Regions from separate parts of the Homo sapiens genome. Here region 2 is linked to region 1. Evidence: promoter capture Hi-C in 16 types of primary human blood cells and fetal thymus (Javierre and others, 2016). All regions are on one chromosome and are shown on one strand. Each heading gives the region's core, a stretch centred on a gene start or on the middle of the fragment in contact. The rest is flanking DNA. Distances are from core to core; before and after follow the strand shown.

Evidence for each region. The method cuts DNA at HindIII sites, captures the fragments that hold promoters and counts their contacts. A CHiCAGO score of 5 or more calls a contact.
Region 2: the fragment with the promoter of FBXO40 here is called in contact with the fragment with the promoter of CD86 in region 1 in 8 of 17 cell types (naive CD8 T cells, endothelial precursors, erythroblasts and 5 more); the score reaches 11.1 in naive CD8 T cells.

Annotation. Positions count from the first base shown.
Region 1 is chr3:122,053,921-122,057,071 of GRCh38, reverse strand. It overlaps CD86 (CD86 molecule), which reads right to left and starts at 1,710. Exons shown (of 7, transcript NM_175862.5): 1 at 1,569-1,710. The coding sequence starts at 1,582. It also overlaps a transcript of ILDR1 not described here. The HindIII fragment of the contact is 6,821 bases long and covers 1,678-3,151 here.
Region 2 is chr3:121,591,840-121,594,990 of GRCh38, reverse strand. FBXO40 (F-box protein 40) reads right to left here and starts at 1,612. Exons shown (of 4, transcript NM_016298.4): 1 at 1,489-1,612. RefSeq lists enhancers at 940-1,591, 1,592-2,242, 1,056-2,255 and a silencer at 1,375-1,669. The HindIII fragment of the contact is 3,467 bases long and covers 166-3,151 here.

The DNA of each region.
Region 1 (3,151 bases), core at 461-2,960:
TATCTCTTTGATAGAGAAAAAATGATACTTCACTGTTGTTTTAATTTGTATTTATTTCATCTCTTATGAGAACAGACATTGTTTAATGGCTATTACTGGTTCATGACCAATCTTCAGGCACTGTGAAACAAAAGGAATCTTAACAAGTTCAATATAGACAGCAGCCTATGGTTTTTTAGACCTCTGCAGACAGTGCTAGCATAATTAAGTAGTATCCCCTCTATGGTACCACAAAAATTATAAATTTTGAAATTCTTTTTTTCTTCATACAAGTATAACGCTTCAAAATTCCACTGGAGCAAAAGGAATCTTTACTGGAAAATTAAATTTTAATCTTCTGAAATAAAAGCAACAAAGCTTTTTCTCAAACCAGTAAGCACTGGGTAGATGAAAGTTACTTCGATTTTCAAAGAACAGTAATTATAAATACATAGTGACGGCCGGGTGCGCGGTGGCTCACGCCTGTAATCCCAGCACTTTGGGAGGCCGAGGTGGCCAGATCACAAGGTCAAGAGATCGAGACCATCCTGGCCAACATGGTGGACCCCGTCTCTACCAAAAATACAAAAATTAGCCGGGCGTGGTGGTGGGCGCCTGTAGTCCCAGCTACTCAGGAGACTGAGGAAGGAGAATCGTTTGAATCCGAGAGGCGGAGGTTGCAGTGAGCTGAGATTGCGCCACTGCACTCCAGCTTGGCGACAGAGCGAGACTCTGTTTCAAAAATAAATAATTAAAAATAAATAAATACATAGTGACTGGCGCCAGCTGCCACCACCCAAGAGAAGGGCGGGTGTGACTCCTTCCAGGAAGTCTCCACAGCATGGAGAAACCTTCTGGCGCACCACGAAGCGGGCAGGAAAGATTTTAGCTCTACCCCTTATGAATAGTGTGAACTTGGGCAAGTTTTTTAAGCCACAGTTACCCCATCTGTCAAAAAGAATGATGATGTCTTTCCAAAAGTCATTGTGAAGAATAAAATTCAATGAAATAGCACTAGTAAAGTACCCAGCACATCATGCATGTTCAATACATGGTAACTAATTTAATCACTCTACCTCCTTCCACTACCCAACCCTGCCCAGAATCTCCCATGGCCTGATTATGACATATTAACTGAGTTTTGCATTTTCTCCTTATACCTCTTTTTTCTCTTTCTTTTTCTTGATCTCTCTCCCTCTACCTTCTCTATCTCATTCCTCCACCCTCAGACCAAACTGACCCTGGTAGACAAAAAACATATTCCCTGTTATTTGTCATTCTTATGCAGATATTTTAAAAATTCCTGATTCTTCACTAAAATCAATGACTGTAACATTCAGTATTTGAATAACAGATTTACAAAACCAAAATTAGGCACCTAAAAATATATATAACTACCACCAATGAACTGCTTTGGGCATTGCAAATAATTCTTGCCTTTATGTGCCAAAGATCTTTTGTAGAAAAAGAAAGCTTCTCCACTTAGGAACTAAGTGAAGGACACACATCAAAGCACCATCTTCAACCTCAGCCTTTCACTGCAGTCACAACTCATAACTTCTCTGCAAAGAATAAGAATTATTACTCACCACTGGGGATCCATTTTGGCTGCTTCTGCTGTGACCTAATATCTGGAAATGACCCCACTCATCCGTGTGTCTGTGCTAGTCCCTGTTACAGCAGCAGAGAAGCAAAGCTTTCACCCTGTGCAAGCCTTCCTCGGCAATGACTGTATACCTACCCAGCTAACTTTCTTTAAGAGAAGCTGTTCCTCTTTTCTCTACAGATTTTGACCACACTTGAGGAAGAAATTTAACCCTTTCCTTGCAGTTTAAACTCATTGACGTAGGTCTATATGTATTAAAGAATATATAATTCAGTAGCTTGAGTTCCAGACATGACGTTAAGATGAGCCTGAATAAAAAATCTCCCCTCTTGAAATTCCCTCAAAAAACCTAGAAAATAAAATAATTAGAAAGAGAAAACAAACCTCCGCAGCAACAAAATAGAATAAAGAGGCATTCTACAGATTTTGATAAGATAATAAAAAGTGATTTATTGTGGATGTGGATTGGGAGTGAGTAGCCACCTAACCCTGCCAATTTCCACAACCAAAGTGTGGAGAGTTTCACTGAGCTGGGGTGGGGGGATGGGAGATGGGGAGATGTTCTGTAAGGACTGCATAACCAAGGAGGGCAGACAGAAGCTACTGCTTTTATTATTTCATTCCTACTATAGCCAAGGATTACATTGATGAAAGCGAATATTCTGAAACAGAAGTCTGAAAAAAAGGCAGCATTATAAAATTAATAGATGTCCCTAAGAGACAAACATAGAATTAATCAAGCAGAAACTATACTAGAAGATATTTCCTCGTATGAATTAAAATGGGCATCATCTAGAAACTCAAACTGTTTAGTGTATCAAAGCAAAAGTTATGAAAATCGATTCTCATCCAGACAAATCATTTTGAACATTTTAAATTCCAAAGGCAAAGCTAAAAACAAAATGAAAACAGAATGACTACAGAGAAACAAAAAACAACTTGGCATCTTACTCAACCCTAAATGGCAAAAAACAACAGAACAATATCTGCAGAATTTTGAATTAGCATTATCTACCTAGATAAGATGCCAGTTAAGTGTCAAGTCAATAGAAATATGTCACCAAGCAGGCAAGAAAACAACAACTGCAACAGAAATACCACCACCAAGACAGCCTTCCTAAATAAATTATTTAAGGATATATTCCAGAATAATAAATGAATTAAAATAGCCTTAAAATGGAGAAGCCATGGCTGAAAACACCAGTGCTGAGCTTTAAAGCAAGTTAAACATGGAGAAATAAGGCTAAATAATTATAAATTAGTTTAGACCAAAATGCTAAATAAGAAAAACTTATTAGAAGTAGATTACATATATTATTTCAAGGAAGTTTAAAAATAGCAGATGACATCACTGCTAACTAGAGCAAGGAAGCAAAATCAACACAATTATTAATCTTCAAATAAGAAGATAGAACAATGATTATTTTATCAACTTTGATAATTTCATCTGGATTTGAGAATTTTAAAAAATGAAGACAGCAATAATATAAGTTATCTATCTTCAAAATTATTGCAGAGCAGGAGTGCAAATAAAATAGTATTTATAACTACATAACACATCAGAAA
Region 2 (3,151 bases), core at 363-2,862, 460 kb after region 1:
GAAAATAAACACTGCTCCCTTACCTTGCCAATTTTTAGTGCATGCAACACTATACAGTTATTCCAGAAGCGAGAAACTATCTGTCTAAAGTTATAACTTTTGATACCTCAAGTATCATTAGTCATTTTACTTTTATCCCTCTGAATATGCAAAATTGTTCAAGCTTGTAACAATCTTTGGTTTTGGTGCATAAGCCTATATAAGTTTTTCAACTTGAGAAATATTTCACTTATATTTCATGGATGCATTTTGGACTCAAGAGAGCTGGGGAGAAGAGGGCCACACTTAGAGAATATTGTTGGCGAAAAAAAGGTGTTAAACTCTGCGGAGTTTGAATAGTATATACAGAAAATACAGTTGTGCTTATTAACCAGTAGTATGACACAGCAGACGAAATTTTAAGCTACATGAGAATGACTTGCAAGCAAACATAGCAAATGTTGACTGGAGAAAAGATCACAGCATTTAGACTTTAGAAAACAGAAATTCTGATCAGGCACAGCGGCTCATGCTTGTATTCTCAGCACTTTGGGAGGCCGAAGCGGGTGGATCACTTGAGGCCAGGAGTTCAAGACCAGCCTGGCCAACATGGTGAAACCCCATCTCTACTAAAAATACAAAAATTAGCCAGGCGTGGTGGCACAGGCCTGTAGTCCCAGCTACTCAGGAGGCTGAAGCAGGAGGCTCTCTTGAACCTAGAAGGTGGAGGTTGCAGTGAGCTGAGACTGCACCACTGCACTCCAGCCTGGGCAACAGAGTGAGACTCTGTCTCAAAAAAATAATAACAATGAATTAAATAAATAAATAAATAATAGAAATTCTGGGCCAGGCACAGTGGCTCAGACCTGTAATCCCAGCGCTTTTGGAGGCTGAGGTGGGCGGATCATTTGAGGCCAGGAGTTCAAGACCAGCCTAGCCATCAAGGTGAAACTCTGTCTCTACTAAAAAAATACAAAAATTGGCCGGATGTGGTGGCATGTGCCTGTAGTCTCAGCTACTCGGAAGGCTGAGGCAGGAGAATCACTAGAACCTGGGAGGTAGGGGCTGCAGTGAGCCAAGATGGTGCCACTGCACTCCAGCCTGGGTGACAGAGCAAGACTGTCTCAAAAAAGAAAGAAAAGGGAATAGAAATCCTGGATTCTAGGCCTTCCACTTGTTTCCTCACCACCTCCTCCACTTCCCCAGATCCCCCCACCCATCACCATGTTGTAACTTTACAGATATCATAACTACTCTTGTTGATTATAGAAGAAAGAACCTAAGCTGTCAGAAAGCAAGTACTCTACCTGCTCTTGAAATGGAAACAGAAATTTACACACGGCTGGATCTCATTCTCAGTGCCAGCCTTTCCCCCACATCTTTACATAACTAATTTGCTTAACAATCCTCTTCCACAGGACACAAAAGTGATATGCGGCTCAGCTTCATCTGCATATTCACCACTGAATGTCCTCGTCATGGTGCACCTGCTCCTGTTTGAATACTTACCTTAATGGAACAGGCTGAGTCAGCATCTGCTTGCACCTGAACCCTTGATTGCAAGTAAGCGGATTGCCGGGAGGTGGCTGGGTTGCATCAGCTGCAGTAGAGGACAGCGTTCTGTTGGGAAGGCAGGGAAAGGAGAGAAAACTTCAACAGAAATAGTCCAAGTGTTGCGAAGTTAAAAATAAAACGATATCACAAGGGGCAATGTGACCAGGCTCAGCTTACGACTTTTTCCTTCCCCTGTATTTATCAACACTCAGTCTCTACTGGAGTGGCATTTAGCAGGGGAAACTGAATGGGAAGTGAAGTTTTATATCAATAGGTTTTCTTTCCCTTGAGGAAGGAGGAAAATCCTTTTAAGAAGGATCATTTTCAAGGCCAGAACAGCCTCTCAGATTCCTGCATGTGCAGTCGGCAGGCCCAGCTGTGCTGAAGGAGGCTGGCACAGCCTTCAGGACTGGCTGCTGCTCTAATTATAACCATGCTCCTCACCTAAACCCATCACTGGCTGAAGCAGCAACTTGTGCAAATGACATGGTGTCCTGCTTCAGTTTCTCCTATCTCTTGTCGTGACAAGTAAGTGTCTGTCCTCCCCTGGTCCTTTCATCTTTCCTGGAAAAGGGAGAGTTTGTAATTCAGATACCAGGTGTAGAGTAAATCCAGTGTGAGAGAATTAGAGGTTGTAGGAGGCTTTAGCTGTCATTTAGTCCAGCTCCCTCTTTTTACAGATGAGGAGACAGAGATTCAGAAAAGGGAAATTGCTCATCCAAGGTCACACATCTCGTTAGTGGAAGAGCCAGAGGAAAGCCCCAGAGAGCTTGTTTAACTCTCAGTCTAGCGTTCTTTATCTTATCATCTTCAGATAAACTCATTCAGGATCTTGTGAGTGAAAAAAATATAGAATCCCGGCTTTGGTGTTTTCTTTTTCTTTTTTTTTTTTTTGAGACAGAGTCTCGCTCTGTTGCCCAGGATAGAGTGCAGTGGCGTGATCTCGGCTCACTGCAACCTCCACCTCCTGGCTTCAAGTGATTCTCCTGCCTCAGCCTCCTGAGTATCTGGGATTACAGGCACGTACCACCATACCTGGCTAATTTTTGTATTTTTAGCAGAGACGGGGTTTCACCATGTTTGTCACGCTGGTCTCGAAATCCTGACCTCATGATCCTCCCACCTCAGCCTCCCAAAGTGCTGGGATTAGGTATGTGATTTTGACAAATTTACTTAACCATTTTCTATTTCAGTTTTCCCCATTGTGAAATGGCGATGATACTTGGTGCGACCACAGGTAACTGTGTCAGTACACATAAGGCACATGAATGATATGTACCACATGCCAAGTGCTCCACAATGCCAGCTGTTATTTGAATGTATTTGAATGTATTTTGACTAACAGCAGATGTGCTAAATTTGGCTGTGATTAACAGCCATCGAATTAACCTTTCCCCTGGATTCTTCATACATATATGTCCTTGGAGGTAAACTTATTTGGAATGAGCAAATAGCAGTTGAAAATTGTAAAAAATTTCTACACTGATCTTGTATCTTGAAACTTTGCTGAACTGGTTTATTAGTTCTAATAGTTTTCTTGTGGATTCCTTAGGATTTTCAAGACCATGCCATCTGTTAACAAAAATATTTTAACTTCTTTCTTTGCGATTTGGATGCC